Regions from separate parts of the Homo sapiens genome. Here region 2 is linked to region 1. Evidence: promoter capture Hi-C in 16 types of primary human blood cells and fetal thymus (Javierre and others, 2016). All regions are on one chromosome and are shown on one strand. The core of a region is centred on a gene start or on the middle of the fragment in contact, and the rest is flanking DNA. Distances in the headings are between cores, read along the strand shown.

The links. Contacts are between HindIII fragments. The CHiCAGO score rates a contact against its expected background, and 5 or more counts as called.
Region 2: a contact is called between a fragment that was not itself captured here and the fragment with the promoter of RIOX2 in region 1, in 1 of 17 cell types (activated CD4 T cells). The highest score is 6.7, in activated CD4 T cells.

Annotation. Positions count from the first base shown.
Region 1 is chr3:97,970,194-97,974,540 of GRCh38, reverse strand. It overlaps RIOX2 (ribosomal oxygenase 2), which reads left to right and starts at 2,110. Exons shown (of 10, transcript NM_153182.4): 1 at 2,110-2,160. It overlaps LOC124909398 (a long non-coding RNA gene), which reads right to left and starts at 1,888. Exons shown (of 2, transcript XR_007095976.1): 1 at 731-1,888. RefSeq lists a silencer at 1,926-2,365 and an enhancer at 2,636-2,895. The HindIII fragment of the contact is 3,966 bases long and covers 1-2,919 here.
Region 2 is chr3:100,718,436-100,722,782 of GRCh38, reverse strand. It overlaps TFG (trafficking from ER to golgi regulator), which reads right to left. Exons shown (of 8, transcript NM_006070.6): 3 at 2,725-2,808. Among named protein-coding and RNA genes, the nearest start is that of TFG, 11 kb to the right of the region's middle. The HindIII fragment of the contact is 1,281 bases long and covers 1,292-2,572 here.

The DNA of each region.
Region 1 (4,347 bases), core at 861-3,360:
CTCCCTCCCCCTTCCTCCCTCCCTCCCCGCCCCTTCCTTCTTTCCTTCCTTTAGACGGAATTTCGCTCTTGTCACCCAAGCACAAACTAACTTTCCTTCTCTTTTTCTTTTTCTTTTCCGAAACAGAGTTTTGCTCTTGTTGCCCAAGCTGGAGTGCAGTGGTGCAATCTCAGCTCACTGCAACCCCGCCTCCCTGGTTCAACCAATTCTCCTGCCTCAGCCTCCTGAGTAGCTGGGATTACAGGCAGGCACCACCATGCTTGAGTAATTTTTTTGTATTTTTGTTAGAGACGGGGGTTTCACCATGTTGGCCAGGGTGGTCTTGAACTCCTGACCTCGGGTGATCCACCGGCGTCAGCCTCCCAAAGTCCTGGGATTATAGGCGTGAGCTACCGCACCTGGCCCCTTCTCCTTTTCTTCACAGGAATGATGGGCACTGTTTAGGTCTGAAAATGGAACTATCATGACTTTTTTGCTTGCTATGCTAAGAAATCGGAATTATAATGAAAAAAATCAGAGAGAACATACTGATATACTAATTTTGCATTAGAGGAACTCCTACACAAGATGTATGATTTCCCCCTGCAAAGCTGACTTCCATATGTACTTTTGTTCTGTTAGACATCCTGCGGCCATTTTATATGCTGAGAAAATGGTATTTTGTGTTGACATTATAACTTTTTTCTACAACCGTACTGCTTTTCCAAGTGGTGGACGTGTGAGAATTTACCTTTATCTGAATCCCGGGAACAGCAATATTATTCTATATTATCTTGAGTAGATGTCTTGCAGTCAAAATAAAGAGCGAAGTACATTACCAATATCATATCAACTAGAGATTTTTGCTGTTGACTATTCTTTTTTACCCTGTAAGGGCTAAATTTGATGTTACCCTCGAGTTTTTCCAACTGGAACCTGCCAGGAAACTTACTAGTTATACGAGTATTAGTAAAACGTGAAAAAGACCAACAGTTGACTGACTGGTTTGGCTCTAATCTTGTTTCTGCATCTTCCTAGCTGTGTGATCTTGTGCAAGTTAGTTAACCTCTCCTGACTCAGTTTCCTCAACTGTAAAATGGAGGTAATTGCAAGGTTGTAGTGAGGATGAAGTGAGGAGTATTTGAAACACCTAGCGTGGTGCCTTATAGCCAGGAAGAACTCAATTCAAGACTTGCTATTATTGTTAGTTTTAGACAAATACTAGACAAGGGTGTACTTTGTTCCCATTTGTTCATGTGCCACTTGATCCTTAGAAGCAGCCACTGGTCTCAGTCACCTTGACGGAACGAAATGTCGACTTCCTCTGGGTCCTCTGGCTGTCTACAGAGCAAAGAAAGGCACAGGCCCGCCACTGATTTCCCTGCTCCCTCATTTGTGCCTCCTGACTGGAACCAAATGTTCCAAAGCAGGGAGTGTTAGGCTGAAAGGACTCAGATAACTGCATTTCTTCTGTTTCTATAGCCATAGTCGCAACGAATTTCCAGTATCTTTTAAAACTAGGATTGACTCTCTCTCCCGGAGCGAGATGATATAAATGACACTCGGCTTGTACAAATCAGCATTGTGTAGCCACACAGCCCATAAGAAAGCCATGGGAGAACCCGGACCACCAACTCCCTAAACTTGCACCGCTGGTATTCCTCTTCAGGCCTGCTTCTCTATTCATAAAAGGAACGGAGTTGCACCAAAACGCTCTCTCAAATCCTCTCCTGCCGCCCCAAGTTAAAAGAAAAAAAAGGAGAGCCGGGTGGGTGGCTCACACCTATAATCCAGCACTTTGGGAGGCCGAGGCAGGAGGATCGCTTGAGCCCGGGAGGTAAAGGTTGCAGTGAGCCAAGATCGCTACCACTGCACTCCAGCCTGGGCGAGAGTGAGACCTTGTCTCACATACCATAAAAAAAAAAAAAAAAAAAAAAAAAAAAAAAAAAAGAGGAAAAAAAAGGCCATTTATTTCCTTCCATATGGACTAAAGAAACGCCCGGGCGTGAACGCGGAACACCGCCGGGTAGCCAGGCCTCCGGGCTGCCACCACTTGCGGGCCGGCGTGGCGGGGCGGGGCGGGGGCTGGAGCACGGCCCGGAGCGTGCCCACGCTGCCCCGCCTCCAGCCGCTGCGCCGCAACGCAGTGGGCTCGCGGCCGCGAGCAACAGGCCGTGCCGGGTGAGTGGGGCGCTCTCGTGGGCATCCCAGCGCCGGGGCAGGCCGGGTAGTGCCCGATCCCGCGGGGCGCGCGCTGCTGCTTTAGGCACCCGGGCTCGGGTGCGGGTCTGGGAGACCTGTCGGTCGGCGAGAAGCCTCGGTGGCCGGCGCTGTGGTTGCGGGACCTGGGACGCGCTCCCAGGCGTCCCACCTCCCCGGAGACTGGGGCAGGGTGGGTGGGGCCCGGATCTAGGGGTAGGGTCGCGGAAGCCTTGGTTACAGAGAGTCGCACACGTGGCCTGCTAATGGTCGCGACACCGGTGACGAGCGCACGGAAAGTTTGGAGGCTTAGCAAGGAGGGTGGTGCCGGCCTCCGCCCGGTGGTGGCAGAACTGCCTGTGCGAGCACGGCTTCCACGTGGGCTGCGCCGCCGGGCGTCATGTCGGGCCTAAGAGACACGCTCTACAGCTGTGAAATCTGAAGTTCAGGTGTGTGGGGAGAAGGGCAGCTGCATTACATCATATGCTTCCAATTCATTTACCAGCAAATAATTCCGCAACGATTGGCCGACAGCTGGGTTGTCCAACAGGTTACTGAGACCAGGTTATTCACTGTTTTCAGGAAGGATAGACTGGGAGGAAGAGGATCTGATTTCGCCACTCATTAGCTGTAAATCTGGTGCCTCGGGTTTCATGTCACTGGGCTCATCTTTGAGCAGAGGAACCTGATTTACTCAGCTTCTTCTGCTGGTACTGGTTTTTGCCTCCTGGACATCAAGCTTTGTAACCTCATGGTCACGAAAATACATTGAGGTATAGTCCGTTTCCTCTCTAAAATCAGACTAAAAAGATAACTGCTGATCACTCCTTTAGGTCAATAGGAGAACCAGTTTTCCCTCTGGATTGATTAACATATCTCTGAGCCAAAAAGAAATGTTTTAGATCAGTCTGGGCAACCTTGTTACAAGCAATATATAATTTCTGACAGCCGTGTGTTTAACTGAGCTGCGTTTGACTGTTGTCCTCCATTAGTGGACCTAAAATTCATCTAGAGAGCGTATTACGTTAATGCAGATTATGGGCCTCAGCCATCAGAAGTGGCAATCCAGTGGGCTTGATGAGGGCCCAGAAATTTGCATGCTAACAACCTTGCTGGTAACTCTGAACTACATTCTGTAAAACTGCCCAGGGGATGTAGAAATTCATACTTCCCTCCCCGATTTAGTAATAACTACTGATGTCTAAAGTGCCTTTTAGCTTTTACGATACTCTTGAATCCTGAAGTGACAGCTGCAATCAGAAAAATAATCCCCTCTGCACAGGCCATCTGTTTTTTCCGTAACTGTTTTGTGTAAGGCCTTTGTGGTTTGTCTCCAAAATTGTATACAGACAAAAGATGAAAATGTGAAAAATTCAGCAGACATTTCTTGAGGACCTCCTATGTACCACACCGTGCTTGTTTCCGGGGATATACAAATCCTTTCCTTCAAGAGCTTCCTCACGTCTTCATGTCCTCAAATATTATAGAAAAGGAGGTTAGGGTACCTTTAAAATATAGTGACTGTCTGTCTGTTGCCTATAGTATGGTTGTCAACATTGATTTTCTTATAGGGTTTATCTGTGGGGTAGTCACCAAAGTATGAACTGTAAATCTTTTAGTCTTTTTACATTTAATGCTTATAGTCAACTCAAATGGAAAACAATTGCTCTTCAAAAACTTTTCTGTGATTTTACAGAAATATTTACTCCTATTGGGGTGGTCTCTAAGGCTTATGGGCAAGGTTGTGTTGGCTGTACTATTCTAGACAAAGCATTGTCTTCTTTAATTACTATAGTATTGGATTCTAAGATATGTGTTTTACTTCTTGCTGTTTCCGAAATTATGATATGTACCTTAAGACTTTTGTATGTTTAATGTGGTAGGATGCTTCATCTATTCTCCCCTCTGCTCTAGAAAGCTGTTAAGAGGAATGGTTGTCTTACAGTATGAGTAGTGTGAGAATCAGAGAAATAATGTATTTGCCCAGAAACCTCTAAGCTTAGGCTCCAATTAACTGAGCCTCAAATCATTTCAACATGAACACAGAGAAACAAATGATGTAACTTTTGGCAGTATGGGTAGTGAAATTTATATTCTAAGGAAAGCATTTGTTATACAGTATTGGGGTTTGTTAGTGATTGTAGATGGGAAAGATTCTTTTAAGTGATT
Region 2 (4,347 bases), core at 683-3,182, 2.7 Mb before region 1:
GAAATTTAGTGGAGTATAGGATGCTACTTTTCTAGTTATTTTTCTTTACTGTTTGCAACTGTGATAATACTGTCTTTTAGCCTCTATTATTACTATGAAGAAGTCTACTAACAGTCTAATTGTTTCATATGTGATCAGTCTTATTCTCTCTGGCTACTTTTAAGGTAATCTCTCTGTCTTAAGACATTTTCCAGTTTCATGACAATATGTCCAGTGGGGATTTACTTTTACTTATCCCTGCTCAAGGCTCCCCGTGCCTTCTGAATCTGAGGGTCTATAGCTTTTATATAACTCTGAAAATTTCTTTAGTCATTACCTCAATGTATTTCCACTCTCCCATTCTCTCCTTCTTGAAACTCTGAATAGAAATATTCTGGATGTTCTCATTTTCAACTTCTCTTTTGCCTGTGTTTTTGTGCTTTACTCTGTAATTTCTTTGGATTTCCTTTTCAGTTCACTAATTCTCTTTTTAGCTATGACTAATGTGTTTAACCTATCCACTTAGTATTTAATTTCAATGATTATATTTCTCATTTCCAAGTTACTTTAAGTTCTTTATAAAATCTGTTTATTGTTTTTCCATAATACAATAGCATCTTGCTCTTATGTTCTCGTTTTGTTTTGTTTTTTCTGAGATGGAGTCTCACTCTGTCACCCAGGCTGGAGTGCAGTGGCGCGATCTCGACTCACTGCAACCTCCACCTCCCAGGTTCAAGCAATTCTCCTGCCTCAGCCTCTCAAGTAGCTGGGACTACAGGCACACACCACTACAGCTGGCTAATTTTTTGCATTTCAGTAGAGATAGGGTTTTACCGTGTTGCTCAGGCTGGTCGCGAACTCCTGCACTCAGGCAATCCGCCCGCCTTGGCCTCCCAAAGTGCTGGAATTACAGGCGTGAGCCACCACGGCCGGCTGCTTTTATATTCTTATTCCTTCTTCTATGTCTTAAATAACTTTTAATTTTGTAGACTATCACATATCTTAACTGAAGTTGTTGAAAATCTAATCCTGCTATTAGTTGTGTCCAGTGGTTCTTGCTTACCTGACAGCTTCATGTGTCTTACGGTTTTGTCTGTGAGAAACCTATGTGACCTGGATTGAGAATATACCCCTCAAGAGAGATTTTGGCCTTTCTTCTGAGATTTTTCTAAAATGGTAACATCTGGGCTTGGGAGTTACCAAACTACATGGATAGTTTAAATTTAAACCCAACTCACCTAAGGACCACAATTATGAATCCTGAAGGGAGACTTCCCAAGCCCCTGACGGCCCAAGGTATAAGAGTTAAGCTTCCTTGACTTTCCCTGTATCAAGGTAGACTTTTCTAAAATATTCTTTTTGAAAGCATGGCCTACTGAGGGACTAGGACCAAGGGCCTACACCATGTAGACACCAGATGGCAATTCCTTAAATTATGCAGGCTAAAATCTCTACTATCACCACCAAGAACACCCCAAGTTTCAGCTTTTGGTACATCAGGCCTTTAGTTCCCTCTACTTTTTTGTTCCCTGGATATTTCCCTTACTTTCCTGTGCAAGCTGAGTTACAGAATTCAGAAAACACATTTGTAAGTTTATCTAGCAGATCCTGTTTAAAGTAAGGGTCTTCAGATTATCTAATCTGCTTTATGCCTAGTCAATAGTTAAGTATTTTACATTCAATACTGTAAAAAGATACCTTTATTTTAAATAATTTTAAACAGTTTTTGTTATTAACATTTAAATTCTGATTATTCATATTCATCCTTCCTAGATGGAGATGAAATAGATACAAATTAAATCAATAGACCATGATCATATTTCACACTGAACTCTAAGTTTCATGCAACAAAATTAAAAAAAAATAAAATTAATGCTAAACAAAACAACAAAACAGCCGGAAAAAGTGTACACATTTTATTTTTCACATAATCACACTACCATTTAACTCTGTAATCTTTTCTATCTTGTCCCTTAAGAGTTCTGCCTTGCATATCTATTAAGATCTAAAAGAAAAAATCTAAAAGATTAAAATTAGTCTTCTATTGGTTTTTATCAGAACTATTTTTAATCTTTAAGTACCCCTCGGGAAATACTGTCTAAAGCAAGGGTCCCCAACCCAGTGCTACTCTGTGGCCTGTTAGGAACCAAACCGGGCTGGGCAGCACAGCAGGAGGTTAAGTGGTGGGCTCCGCCTCCTGTCAGTTCAGCAGTGGCATTAGATTCACATAGGAGTGTGAACCCTATTGTGAATTGCACATGCAAAGTGGAAGAGTTTCATCCCCAAACCTTCTCCTGCCCCCTTCCATAGAAGAACTGTCTTACACGAAACCAGTTTCCAGTGCAAAAAGGTTGGCGACTACTGGTTTCAAGTATCAGACTTACATGTTAAGCCCTGATAATAAGTAACAACATACTGTAATGTGAAGGAAGATAATTACAATTTAAAAATTCTAATACAGCTAAATTAAAACTATAATACTGCACCAGGGATACCTAAGTTATACCTGATTTCAAAAAAAACATACTTAACACTCTGTTCTTACTGAATTAAACTTCTATCATTTTCTTAAAAACATACACAGCCATAAGCTTCAAGTAATCTAAAACAACTACCTGAACACAAATAAATGTAATAATATTTGAATAAGTTATTGCTTACCTGAGTCTTTAAAAGGAAAAAAGCCAAACATCTTTAAAATACAATGAATAAAATAGTAAATTCATTAGAAAGTTTACTACTCACCAAATAATGTCAGTTTCAGTATCCTACTGCACTGAATTGCAAAGGAAAGGTCAGAACTATCAAAAATTGTTATAAGATCTCCATCTGGAATTTAAAAAAAAAAAAGGTTGTTTTTTAATTTTTTAAATTTTCAGATTTGTATAAGCAGTAAACTAGTAAAAATTAAAAATCCAAAATGTAGATTGTAGAACATAGTTGGACTCTCCCATAGAAACCTTAAACTTTAAAGGTCTAGCAAAAATGCATTTGTTCAAAAATATACTAAATCAATTTTGCTTATTACTCTTATGGCAAGGTATTTACACATATCCACATGAAAAAATACAGCTAAAGTGAATCCATTAAGTGCCTTAATATTTATTAGTCACTAGTAAGAGATTCATAGAGAGCAATATCATAAATTGTTGGTTTAGACTGAAATCTTTTCATTCCAAAAAATTTACATCTTTTACCAAGAAATAAAAAAGTTTCCCAAAGTTCAAATCTTAATCATAGGTAGAGTAAAACACTACTGTTGCAAAACTGCTTTAATGAATGGATAGACAGTAAATTCTTTCAGGTCACTGACCATTTTGATATTAAGATGAAAACAATCAACTCTCCCCAGAAAAATATTTATATATTCAAAACAGTGTGTATTTATGACCGTGAAATCCCCCAGATCTCAGGGATAAAGAATGCTATAATTGGCATACCAACTGTGTGTCTCAAAAGCTTTCAAAGGGCTAAGGGAAAAATACATTCTCTAAAGAAAGCAAGAACAGAAAAGCAGCCAGAGACAAGGAGTTCATCAGGGACCTCTGCAGGGTGTCTTCACAAACAGTTGGGTGGGGAGGAGTTCTGTCCTGGGGAGGCCACAAGACTACTTCTGGGATGCTCTGCTGCACCTACTTTAACACTAATTAGTTGGATTTATTTTGGGCAAAGATGACAAAACTGAGAATTTTATAACTGTTTTTAGCTCCTTATAGCCAGACCCACTTCCCATAACATACTTGTTTAATGTTCAATTTTCATAAACACATTTTTTAAAGAAAATAAAGTATGTATGTAAAAGAAGAAAACTTCCTGTTCTTTTTTTCTTTTCTGAATCCTACAACAGAAACAGAGTATCTCTGATGGCAGGAACTTTACCTAAGCCATCCCTCCACTCTACTAACAGAATCTAACGGACACAAATCAAAACAATCAAAAACTTTTTGGCCAAGTGCGGTGGCTCACACCTGTAATCCCAGCAGTTTGGGAGGCTGAGGTGGGCGGATCACCTGAGGTCAGGAGTTCGAGACCAGCCTGGCCAACATGGAGAAACTCCGTCTCTACTAAAAATACAAAAATCAGCCGAGTGTGGTGGTGTGTGCCTATAATTCCAGCTACTTGGGAGGCCGAGGCAGGAGAATCACTTGAACCTGGGATGTGGAGGCTGCAGTGAGCCAAGATCACCCCACTGTACTCCAGCCTAAACGACAAAGCAAGACTTTGTCTCAAAAAAAAAAAAAAAAAAAAAAAAAACCATGAAATACAAAGTTGTAACTAAATGTGGAAGACAAACTACAACGAGGACACCTCAAGCTAAGGGTCCATGAACTGTGACCAACGGACAAAATCCCTGTGTTGTTATAGGTC